Regions from separate parts of the Homo sapiens genome. Here region 1 is linked to region 2. The links are contacts of gene promoters, found by promoter capture Hi-C in human tissues and cell types (Jung and others, 2019). All regions are on one chromosome and are shown on one strand. Each heading gives the region's core, a stretch centred on a gene start or on the middle of the fragment in contact. The rest is flanking DNA. Distances are from core to core; before and after follow the strand shown.

Evidence for each region. The method cuts DNA at HindIII sites, captures the fragments that hold promoters and counts their contacts. A contact is called where the count stands out against the background at its distance.
Region 1: a fragment that was not itself captured here is called in contact with the fragment with the promoter of ZSWIM6 in region 2 in 1 of the 25 tissues and cell types used here (lymphoblastoid cells).

Annotation. Positions count from the first base shown.
Region 1 is chr5:60,531,172-60,537,145 of GRCh38, forward strand. It overlaps PART1 (prostate androgen-regulated transcript 1), which reads left to right. Exons shown (of 4, transcript NR_024617.1): 3 at 2,761-2,848. Among named protein-coding and RNA genes, the nearest start is that of PART1, 46 kb to the left of the region's middle. The HindIII fragment of the contact is 5,395 bases long and covers 1-4,005 here.
Region 2 is chr5:61,329,878-61,335,663 of GRCh38, forward strand. ZSWIM6 (zinc finger SWIM-type containing 6) reads left to right here and starts at 2,381. Exons shown (of 14, transcript NM_020928.2): 1 at 2,381-3,071. The coding sequence starts at 2,396. LOC105378994 (a long non-coding RNA gene) reads right to left here and starts at 2,339. Exons shown (of 2, transcript XR_007058781.1): 1 at 2,263-2,339. RefSeq lists an enhancer at 471-1,041 and silencers at 846-1,425, 1,456-1,525, 1,736-2,135, 2,246-2,385, 3,166-3,275 and 2 more. The HindIII fragment of the contact is 12,801 bases long and covers 1-5,786 here.

The DNA of each region.
Region 1 (5,974 bases), core at 58-2,557, 800 kb before region 2:
ATAAATCTTGTTGTTGCTCACTCTTTGGGTCCACACTGCCTTTATGAGCTGTAACACTCACTATGAAGGTCTGCAGCTTCACCCCTGAAGCTAGCAAAACCGCGAACCCGCCGGGAGGAACGAACAACTCCCGACATGTGGCCTTAAGAGCTGTAACACTCACTGCGAAGGTTTGCAGCTTCATTCCTGAGCCAGCGAGACCGTGAACCCACCAGAAGAAAGAAACTCCGAACACATCCAAACATCAGAAGGAACAAACTCCAGACACGCTGGCTTTAAGAACTGTAACATTCACTGAGAGGGTCTGCGGCTTCATTCTTGAAATCAGTAAGACCAAGAACCCACCAACTCAGGACACAGTGTGATTTTCACAGCCGGAAATTGACTTGGAAATCCTTAAGTTTTTTTTAATGCAGCTTTTGGATAGCCATAAAAATCTTATACCTTCCTTTAATGTTATTTAAATTTTTGAAATAAGTTCAGTAACAAGAAAACAAGATGGACACAACAGTAACTTTAAAACGATTTTCTTTAGATCTTAAAAGATACGTATTTCAGCCAGGCATGGTGGCTCACGCCTGTAATCCCAGCACTTTGGGAGGCTGAGGCGGGCAGATCACGAGGTCAGGAGATTGAGACCATCCTGGCTAACACGGTGAAACCCCGCCTCTAGTAAAAATACAAAAAAAAAAAAAAAAATTAGCCCGGAGTGGGGGCAGGCGCCTGTAGTCCTGGCTACTCGGGAGGCTGAGGCAGGAGAATAGCATGAACCCAGGAGGCGGAGCTTGCAATAAGCCGAGATTGTGCCATTGCACTCCAGCCTGGGTGACAGTGTGAGACTCCATCTCAAAAAAAAAAAGATATGTATTTCTTCCTTTGATTATGTGGCTACAATGTGAGCACTGAATCTGCTTGCTGACGGCCAGCTTTTCACTCCTAAGGAAATGGAGAAAACAGAGCCAGAGGTAGGCTACTCTCCATGTCAAGCTTATCTGCTGCTTTATTTTCAAATACCTTAAGACCCTTTCACCCTGACTCTGATACACCCCATAGCAGGCCAGGACCCTTCTTATTCCAAAACCATAGTTTTACAGACAAAGGGACAGTGAGACTCCAGTGACTTACTCTTAGCCACACAGCTAGTTGGCAAAGAAAGAAAACAGAAATCGTGCTGATGGAGAGGAAGATTCAGAGGAGGAGGAGAAACAGGATAATGCAGGCTTATAATAATTTGCTGTGGGAAATCAAATGATGTGGGCAGCAACAAAGGGACTTAAGCAAAAAGATTTTTTAGGAAAAGAGACATAAGCAAAAAAGGGACTTCAGCAAAAAGAATTTTTAGGAAAAGCATTCTTGCTGCTGTATGCAGAGTGCAATAAATAACCCATGTCATTAACCCATGTCCTTATCTCTGCACCTTTTGCTACCAGAACCTAAAATAATACCAAGAAAATATATTTAAAGGTAAAATCTGGTGGTGGTTTGTTTTCATTTGAGTAAATTTTCTATGTATAATCAGTGATTAACCCATTTTAGGAATGAAGTAGAAATGAAGGGTTTTCTCCCCAGTGGTTATAACAAACTTGAAGGCTCTATGGCTAAAAGTACAAATTCCCTTTTGTTGCTTCTTTGTTGTTGTTGTTGTTTCTGAGATAGGGTCTTTGTGTTGTCCAGGTTGGAGTACAGTGGTGCCATCACGGATCACTGTAGCCTCAATCTCCCAGCCTCAATCAATCCCCTCACCTGAGCCTCCCGAGTAGCTGGCATGCAGGAATGCATCACCACACCTGGCTAATTTTTGTATTTTTAGTGGAGACGGGGTTTCGCCATGTTGCCCAGGCTGATCTTGAATTCCTGGGCTCAAGTGATCCACCCACCTTGGCCTCCCAAAGTGCTGGGATTACAGGTGTAACTGCACCCGCCTATAGTTTTTTCAAGGGCAAAAAATTACAAGTTGAGCACTCATGAGCTTAGAGTCTTTTGAATGTTCTCCAAATCAAAAGTCAAGTTTTAGTCCTACTTCCCCTAAGCAGAGAGTTCTTCCCAGCTTAGAGTTTCATTTCAAAGAACTGATGGCAAAGATTTTTCAGGTACAGTTCTCATATTTGAAAGCTTCATTCCTTCCCAGCACAACTGTGTGCATATTGACCTAATACAGACCTGTGTTTTTGGTAGATTCTCAGAAAATGTTTGATGGTGACCTTGGCCTTTGGGACTTGGCCACCACCCTTAGCTTTCATAGCCTTTTCCCAGAGGGAACCAGATGAAAAAGGAACTTCAAGCCTGGAATTATTCTGTTTAGCCACTTCTGTTGCTTACCAAAGGCTTTGCCAATGATAATACTGATAAAGGGCAACATAAACACATCTATGTGTGAGTTGCCATCTGAAACTGAAGTTAAACACACTTGGTGCTGACCAATAAACTGTAGTGCTTTTTCAGAAGAAAAGAGAATATTCCTTTTCTCTTGGAGCCATGGAAAACAGGCAATAGTATGAGGTAGGGGAAACTCCAGAGTTTCTATATAGGAAGGGACTGAAGCAGGAATCTACCTAGAAGAGAAGCCTAGGGGACTTGACTTTTTTTTTTCTTGATATGATTTGAATGCCCCCTTCAAAACTCATGTGGAAATTTAATTGCTAATGTAATGGTATTGGGAGGTGGGCCCTTTAAGAGGTGATTAGATCACGAGGGCAGAGCCCCATGAGTGGGTTCCTGATAAAAGGATAAGTTCAGCCTCCATTTGCTCTCTGTTTCTAGTGTTCACTTCCACCTTCCACCCTTTCACTATGAAGGACCCTCACCAGATGGTGGCACCATGCTCTCGGACTTCCCAGCCTCCAGAACTGTAAGCCAAATAAACTTCTTTCTGTATAAATTGCCGTTTGTGGTATTCTGTTATAGCAACAGAAAACAGACTAAGACAATACCTAACACGATGTTTTGATATACATATTGTCAAAAGGCAAAACTATAACAAATTTAGTTTTAAGATCTAATTGGCTTCTATTTGTGATTCTAGAATTCAGCAGTATTGTATTCTATAAATAGAATGAATGCTCCACTGGGCATGGCAGAACAATTGGTTTTTGTAAAGTGGGAACAAGGAAACAGAATAATAGAAAAAGGCAGATCGGTTAACATCAGATTACTTCAGGTTACTTTTCTTATAAGGGTTAAAACTGTGGAGATTTCCTTATTATACTGACTTAGGCTGACTGGGCCCTTTCTAATTGGTTTCTGTGAATCTTCTGTTTTCAAAAATATCTGGTCTGTTTGGAAATTTACCTGCTTTCTTAAAATTTCAGTTTAATCATGTGGCACTTAGCGTGTGGGACTCCATTTTGCTTTGGTTTGTTGGGATCTAGAATGAGAGCTTCCATAAATTTTATTTAACAATATGCATAATGACATGATTACCACATCAAGCAAATTAGCATATCTATCATGTTACACAGTTACCTTTTCTGTGTGCGTGTGTGTGTGTGTAGTAGAATTACCTAAAATCCACTCTGTTAGCAAATTCCCTTATGAAATAAAATATTATTAACTACAGTCTTCATGCTATACATTAGATCTCTAGGCTTATTTATTCTACATAAATGAAACTTTATACCCTTTGACCTCCATCTCCCCACTCCCCCACTTTTCCTACCCCTGGTAACCACCTTTTTACTCTGTTTCTACATCTTTGAATTTTGTTTCTTTTTTTTTTTAATTTCGCATATAAGTGAGACCATGTAGTATTTTTCTTTCTGTGTCTGGCTTATTTCACATATTATAATTTTCCTCTTGGTCCATTCATGTTGACACAAATGGCAGGATGTCCTTTTTTAAGACTGAATAATATTCCATTGTGTATGTGTGTACACACACACACACACACACACACACACACACAATTTCTTTATCCATTCATCTATTGACAGCCAAAGGTTGTTTCCATATCTTGGCTATTGTGAATAATGCTTTGAAACATGGGGGCACAGATATCTCTATGAGGTGATTTCATTTTCTTTGGATCTACACTAAGAAACAGGATTGCTGGCTCATATAAGAATTTTATTTTTAATTTTTTGTAGAACCTCCATATTATTTTCCACAATGGCCTCTGTATTCCCACCAACAGTATACAAGGTTCCCTTTTATGCATATTCTGGCTAACACTTGTTATCTCTTGTGTTTTTTATAATAGTCATTCTCACAGGTGTGAGGTAATACTGTGGTTTTGATTTGCATCTGCCTGATTAGTGATATTGAGCACCTTTTTATATACTTGCTGTAGGAGGCTTTTCTTGCAGCTGTGTTTGCAAACACACTGCTTTTACAGAGATTGCATATGTATTGGGAAGCTCCTGGGATCTTTTCAGAAGAACAGCAACAGCTTCAGCTGAATGGAGCTGATGAAGATGGAGGTGGTTAAGCCCCTAAATCCAAGCCATCCCCTGGTCTCTCTACTGAAGACTAAATGAATAAATGAAAGGCCAGAGGGGAAAAAATCTTGAAAAATGAGGAAAATCAAATGTTTGTGAGTCTGATCTGGTATAAATCTCCGAAATCTTACAGTGTTTAGACCCTGGGAGCTTCCAAACACAACCATGTGAATAGTTCAGATGCCTTGCTTGGAGTGATCCAAGCAAATCATTCCATATCCATCCTATGTATTATCTACTTTGTTAATATTCTGTGCTGGGTTTGAAAAAAATAATAAAATAAATTGCCTTTTTAAAGAAATAATACCACAAATAGTGCAAAATTCAAAGGTACACAAAAAATATAGTGAAACATAACACTACTTCCTACCCCATCACCCAACAACTGTTACATTTCTTGAATATACTTCCAAAGCTGTTCTATGTATATGCAAGTATATACGTGCATGTATTTTTATGTAAAATTTACATATGACATACATAGGAAAGTGGTTTTTCAAGCTATTTTTTACTGTGATCTGCAAAAAAAAATGAATTTTCTCCTCTGTTCCATTGATGTAGCTATCTGTGCACCACTACCATAGTGCTGTAACGATTATAACTCTATAATATGTGTTCATCAGAGCATTCATGCTTCTCATTACTATTCTGATTCAAGATGTTTCCTAGCTATTCTTGCTTTTTTCATTTTTCCATATAATCTGTAGAATTAGCTTCTCTGGGCATACAGTCCTTTCTTGCATATCTTAGCACCAATTGTTGTTTATGTGTGTAAAGACTATTCTAGCCACACTACTCAATTCTCTTATTTTTTTTTTCTTTTACTATTGTTGGCAGTGATCTTTCAGTTAATTTTCTTGGGTTTTCAAGGCACAGAGTTACATTATTTGCAAATATGATTATCTTACCTCCTCCTTTCCAACTTGTACATACCACTCTTCTTTATCTTATCTAAAAGTTTGTTAGCACCTCAAGACCAATGTTCAATAATGTTGTGGTAATGGCATCTTTGTCCCAATTTAATGTGAGTGTATGGTTTGCTAGTTAAACATGACCTGGCTTTTGAGGTAAGACAAATATATTTTACTAATGTGATAAATTTAGTTCTATTTGATGAGGTGTTTTTTCATAATCAATAATGGATTTTAATTTTATAGCAAACATTTTCAGCAACCATGAGTGCGGGCATATGGTTTTACTGTTTTTTACATATACTAGGATGTTAAACAATATCAATAGATTTCCTAATATTAAACTATCCTTCCTTTCCTGAAAGGAAGGACATTCTACTGTCCTCCTGGAATATGTTTGCTAGTATTCTATTGAAGATGTTTGTATTGATAGTCACAAGAGACATTAGACTTTCTTTTTATTATTTTTGTTGTTCTGTGGCATACTGACACCAGTGTAACCTCCACTTTATAAAAAGTAACTAGAGTCTTTTCTTCTAGAAGAATTTTAAAAGCTTTAGAGTGATTGAGTCATTAAGGTTATGAAGAGCTCACCTGTAAAAATATCTGTGCCTGGTAGTTTGGAAGACG
Region 2 (5,786 bases), core at 1,131-3,630:
TCGTTATAATAACGAAAGCTCTAAAAGTTAGGCACCTCCAAAGGTACCTACTTCCCTGTTCAATGTGAATTAATCTCTTCTACTAACAACCCCTATGACCCTGAATGAGTCATTTATCCTGTCTGGGGGCACCAGTTTTGTCATCGCTGACTTTCCAGTTCAGTGATTCTATGTGTTTATGTGTGAAAATGCTTGCTAATCTACACATTATACAAGCCTAAGTCGTATCATGAACTTCTGAAGAGAATAGAGCCCAACTTGTGTTTTACTTTTAAACTTACTGTCTTCTATACCTATGTTTTACACAATTATAAGATTATTCTTATTTTTAAAGAGATCTAGAAATGAAACCCCTGAAAGAGACTTCTCCCTCTACTTGCCCATAAAGATCCTCCAGTTTTCCGCACAGGCTTTTTCCTAGACATGGAGGAAGTGCCCAGAAAAATACTGGACGGATATACAAAAACATAATGCCACAAAAATTTTCCTAACAAGTAAGGCAGCTGCGGAAAGTCGGCCAGCGTCCCGACCCCAGGGACCTGCAGCCTGGGACTTGTGAAGGCCCACTGTGTAGCTCGAGGTTTCCAGGGCCTCGGCCCCGAATGGGCGATTTTCTTTAAAACGCCGAAGCGCGCTATCCCTTTAAATCCAGGCTGCAAGGCAGGCGGGTGGGGAGCAGCCAATAACCTTAAAAGATGCGAAAGTGTCAAAGGAGATACAGTTTATCTCCAACAATGGGAGCGGATCAGCACCACTGTTTACAGTAAAAACAGAAGGTGGGGCTGGGAGGAAGCCTGTCTCCGACGCGGTAATTAAGTCTGCGGCTTGGAAGCAGATTTGACCGAGCTCTGTGGAGCGCGAACAATGTCCGCAGGGCTCCAGGTTCAGAGAGGGACTCGCTTCTCCGCCTTCGCCCGCGTCCAGGCACCAGCGAGCTGCACTCTGCACTCGCTCTCCCTGGTCCACCCCTACACTGCCCGGACCCGAGGGGACTGGCCCTGCGGGCGCCGCCAAGGCGACTGAGAGCGCGGCGCGCGTCCCGAGCGCCTGGACTCCGCGCAGCCGGGCGCCGCGCACCCGGGTGCCGGGGTGGGAGCCGGGCCGCAGACCCAAGTGCGCCCGAAGCCGCCGTCCGCCGCCTGGCACGCCGTCTGCCGCCTGCTGGGCGATGTGTGCGCGAGCCCGTGGGGCTTGCGCGCGCCCTGCGGCGTGTGTACTCACAAAGGTGTGTCTGCTAACCCCACAGCCCGGGCTGCGTTCCACCCCGAGCTGGAGAAACCCCGGCCTGGAGCGGGGCCTTGTCCGCGCGGCCGCGGGGGCGACAAGGGCGGCCGGAGCTCCTCGACTTCTAGCGGGCGGGTCGGTTTCCTGGCCCGAGGGGCTGAGGCAGCGAGGGCGGGACGGTGGCAGCCGGCACCGGACGCGGGTCGCGCGGCTGCTGGGCACGTTCCGAGCGCTCTGCGTGTTTTCGGGCACAGCCCTGCAGCCGAGACAGAACGGACGCGGGGCTCGGGGATGGGCGCACTGCAGCCACGCGGGGTTAGCAGAGCGGGCGCGCTCCTTCCACACCAGGTCTGCAAAAGTGAAGTGGAAAGCCGCCGCCGAACGCAGCCATCCTCCCCCTTCCCCGCTGCAGCTTCGGCGGGTGGTGGGGAGAGCTCCCCTGGACCGGCTGGAGGGGAAGCTGGCAGGCGCTCGGGTTTGGCCGCGCCTCCTCCGCCTTCCTCTCCACCCGCGTCCCCCGGGGTCCATGCCGCATTTCTTTGTTTTGAAAGCGCCTCCTCCGCCCAGAGGCTTTTCCCCCGAAGGGCAGGGGGACGGGGGGGGTGGGGCATCGGCCCGTGGGCCCCGCCCTCCATTTAGCTCAGAACCCTCCCCTTCGCTCACCCCCTCTTCTCCCCTTTCCTCCCCCGCTGCGACCCACGAGGCGCATCCTCACTTCTCGGACTTCAAAGAGAAGCTGAGAACTGGAGGGGGAAGTGGGGTAGGCAGGGGGCGCAGAGACCCACCCACCTCAGGCCCGGCCCGGCGGCCCGCCCCCTCCCACGGGAACCCCGCCTGACCCCGCCCTCCCCCGCGTCACAGCAGCCTGACATTCTCACAACCCACCGGGCACCAAAACGGCCCGCCCCCGCCACCCCCGTGTCCGCCAAGCGCTCTATTTATGTTTCAGCCCAGCGATTTGCATAGGCCCCGCCCCCGGCCCTAGGTTCCCCCTATCAGAGCCCCGCCCCAGCTTCTGCGTCACAGCGGAGGCCCCACCTCTTGTGCCCATACAAGGAGCGGCGGGCCCTAGATGGCATCGTGGCGTCGCGACGGCGTGTGCGTGTCGCGCTTCCTAGTGCCGTTTATAGGGTCCCGGCACTTCCGCTGTCGGGTTAGAAGCGGCGCGGTCATGGCGGAGCGCGGACAGCAGCCTCCTCCCGCGAAACGGCTTTGCTGCCGGCCGGGCGGCGGCGGCGGCGGCGGGGGCAGCAGCGGCGGCGGCGGCGGCGCGGGTGGCGGCTACAGCTCTGCCTGTCGGCCAGGCCCGCGGGCGGGTGGCGCGGCGGCGGCGGCGGCGTGCGGGGGCGGCGCGGCGCTGGGGTTGCTGCCGCCGGGCAAGACCCAGAGCCCCGAGTCGCTGCTGGACATCGCGGCGCGCAGGGTGGCGGAGAAGTGGCCGTTCCAGCGCGTGGAGGAGCGCTTTGAGCGCATCCCGGAGCCGGTGCAGCGCCGCATAGTCTATTGGTCCTTCCCCCGCAGCGAGCGGGAGATCTGCATGTACTCGTCCTTCAACACCGGCGGCGGCGCCGCGGGCGGCCCCGGCGACGACAGCGGTGGCGGCGGCGGCGCGGGCGGCGGCGGCGGCGGCGGCTCCTCGTCTTCCCCGGCCGCAACCTCGGCGGCCGCAACCTCGGCCGCCGCCGCCGCTGCCGCCGCCGCCGCCGCCGCCGCCGCCGCCGCGGGGGCCGGGGCCCCGTCGGTGGGGGCTGCCGGGGCGGCGGACGGCGGCGACGAGACGCGGCTGCCTTTCCGCCGGGGCATCGCGCTGTTGGAAAGCGGCTGCGTAGACAACGTCCTGCAAGTCGGTGAGTCACGGGGCAGCCGCGAGCCGTCTGTCCGTCCGTCAGTCCCTGGGTGGGGGGGGGGTGCCCGCCTTTCTCCTGCGGACAGCCCCTAGTTCCGCGCGCGCCCGCACCCCTGCGGGTGTCCTCACTGGCCCGGACGGTCCTCCTGAGCGGAGCGCCCATTTCCTCCCTCCCTTCCCTGCCCCCCGTCGCCCCGGACGGGCCAGCGCGAGTGGGAAATGAATCAGCAGGACGCGCCCCTCCGTGGGCTCCGCGCCCCCGGCCCGCGCTCCCCTACCCGCCCTCCTCCGGGGAGCACATCCTGGAGGGCTGTTCGCCGGTTTCGGGGGTGGATGTGGACAAAGGCGCGGGCGGACGGCCGGCCTCCGGCGAGGGTGTGTGTGGCGGGGCTGTGCGGGGCGGGGGAGGGGGCGCGGGCCGCAGACAATGCCGGCCGCGGCCCGGCCGCTCGGCGCTCCCCCCCTCTCCCACTGCCTGTCGCTCGCTCCTTTTTCTTTCTGGCCCCCGCCCCACGCGATTTGAGGGGAGGGGAATACACTTAAAGCCGCTCGGCCGCCGCTCCTCCCAGGGCTCCGACGGGCGAGCGGCCGCGGCGCTCCCGGGTCGCTGTGGCGTCTGGCCCGGGCGAGCTCCACTGGCCGCCCGGGGTTTAAATGTCGTTTTCTTTGCGCCTCCTCAGTCTCCAAGCGGCGCAGAGGAGAGGTGGCGGCGGACCGGACTCCGTCTCCGGAGGGACATCTCGCCCGTAGGACGCTTACTAATTAAAGGGCGCGAGCCTGAGGAGGAGCTGCTAGCGCTTCCCTTTTCTCTGAAGCTGCCTCCAGACACCCCTGTGCGGGCCGCGGCGCAGCCCTTGTGCCCCGCCGCCCGAGTTTTGTTTGCGCTGTGTGGTCAGGTCGTGGTGCCCCGGGCGAGCCGCGGTCGGCAGTTGCGGATTTGCCGCTCGCAGCCAAAGGGGCGAGCGGGCTGCAGGAGCGCGAGGCAGAGGGCTCGGCGGCCGCTCCCGCGTCCCCGCGGCGCGGCAGCCCGGCACGACCCAGCACTTTGTTCTCATTTTCAGGTTTTTTTGTGCCCCTTTCAGTTTTCTGTCACCCTCCGAAAAGGAGAAACCAAACAAAAGAGTCTCTTTCTTTTCAGGGCTTGTAAAGTAGAATATATTTGACAAAGGCGAGAGAAGGACTTGTGATTTAGAGCTGCACAGCCTTCCTTTCTCTGACAGATCCTGAGAGTTTTCTCAAATACCTTAGTTTAAAAGTGTCTCCTGTTCCCCCTCCCCTAAAATGTTCTTTTTCCCCTGTCCAGATCTTTTTCAGCCATAGCGATGGGAATGTTTGAGCCAGACTGAAAAGAACAATGCTGTAGTGAAACTTCCCATTTTTTTCTCCTGATTGCAAATGGCATATTTTCTGACCCCCTCCCATGTTAGTGTACTTGAAATTGTAGCATGGTGAACCCGGCACCGAATGAATGGGGATAGATTTGGACGCATCTCTATCTCTTTGATTGTTAACTTAATCCTTTTTCTCTTTCTGTAGTCAGTTCCTTTTATCCTTCTTTTCTTTGGAAGTGGGGTGGGGGTCTGGATAGGGTCCCCAAGAAAGAATTAAGATTTGTTTTAATCCTGTCTGGTTAATTTGAATTCTAATGCCATCTGCAAACGTGGTTTTCTGCATGGTCATTTATTTCCAAAGGCAGCCCCCAGTGTTGCCTTTTCTATGTTGGGCACTCTTTCCTTCTGTCTAGAGGGGGTTTAGCTTTTGAGGCTATTCATCTATCCTTTTTTCCTTAAAACAAATCTAATTAACATTCTTCCTAGTTATACCTTTTTTTTTGTTTGTTTGTCTGTTTCCTGCCGGTTAGCGATGGATGGAAGCACATCTATGGCTTCTCAGTATAACAAACTAGAGTCTGCGAATTTTTATGGCTTGGCTGGCAATGTTGAGGGTTTTTTTTTTTTTCCCCCTCCCTCTCCCTGTGCTTGACTCCGCTTGCAAGCAATGAGGAATGACAGGAGAGCGCATAGGGAGGGTTTCTTGGCTGATTGCATTTAAGCCAGGAATTCACTGTGAAAATAAAGCCAAGGGGCGATAAATAAAAGAGGCAATCTTCTCTAGGAGACAGACACACAGCGTGGGCTTTGCCTGCTTTCATCAGTGGAAGAGGCCTGGGTGAGTAGTTGTAAAAGAAAATAGTAACTTTTTGAATAGTCCCCAAAGGGGAAGAGGCCACTGAATGGAATTGGCAGTGGTTGACGTGAAGTGGTGTGATGTTTCTCGTGTAGACTGAAGAGTTGACCACCACTTCAGAAACACATACGTGCTAAACAAGTGCTATACAAATTGTGGAAAATATTCTTTTTTCGCCTCTGAGTTCTGCCATTTGCCTTAACTTCGAAGTTGTATTACTTGTTGTGCCAGTCAGCTTTAGAGATGGAAGGCTGTTAAATGCCTGGCAGCTGGCACTGAGAGATAGAACACTTATGATCAGGGTTCCCCCCACCTCCCTTTATGGGGAACAGAGAGAGGGTGGCTAGATTAACCATTTAATTTAGCTTCAAGTAGTGGTTTGAATTGATATGCTAACTTGAAAGGCTTATTTTATAATTTTGATTTGAGGTAGAACGCTTTTGTTTGTTTCAGTTTCTTAAAATGGAAAAGAACAGAATACTTTGTTGATAGCACCATAAAGCAGTTTTCTGGTATTGCAAAATTACAA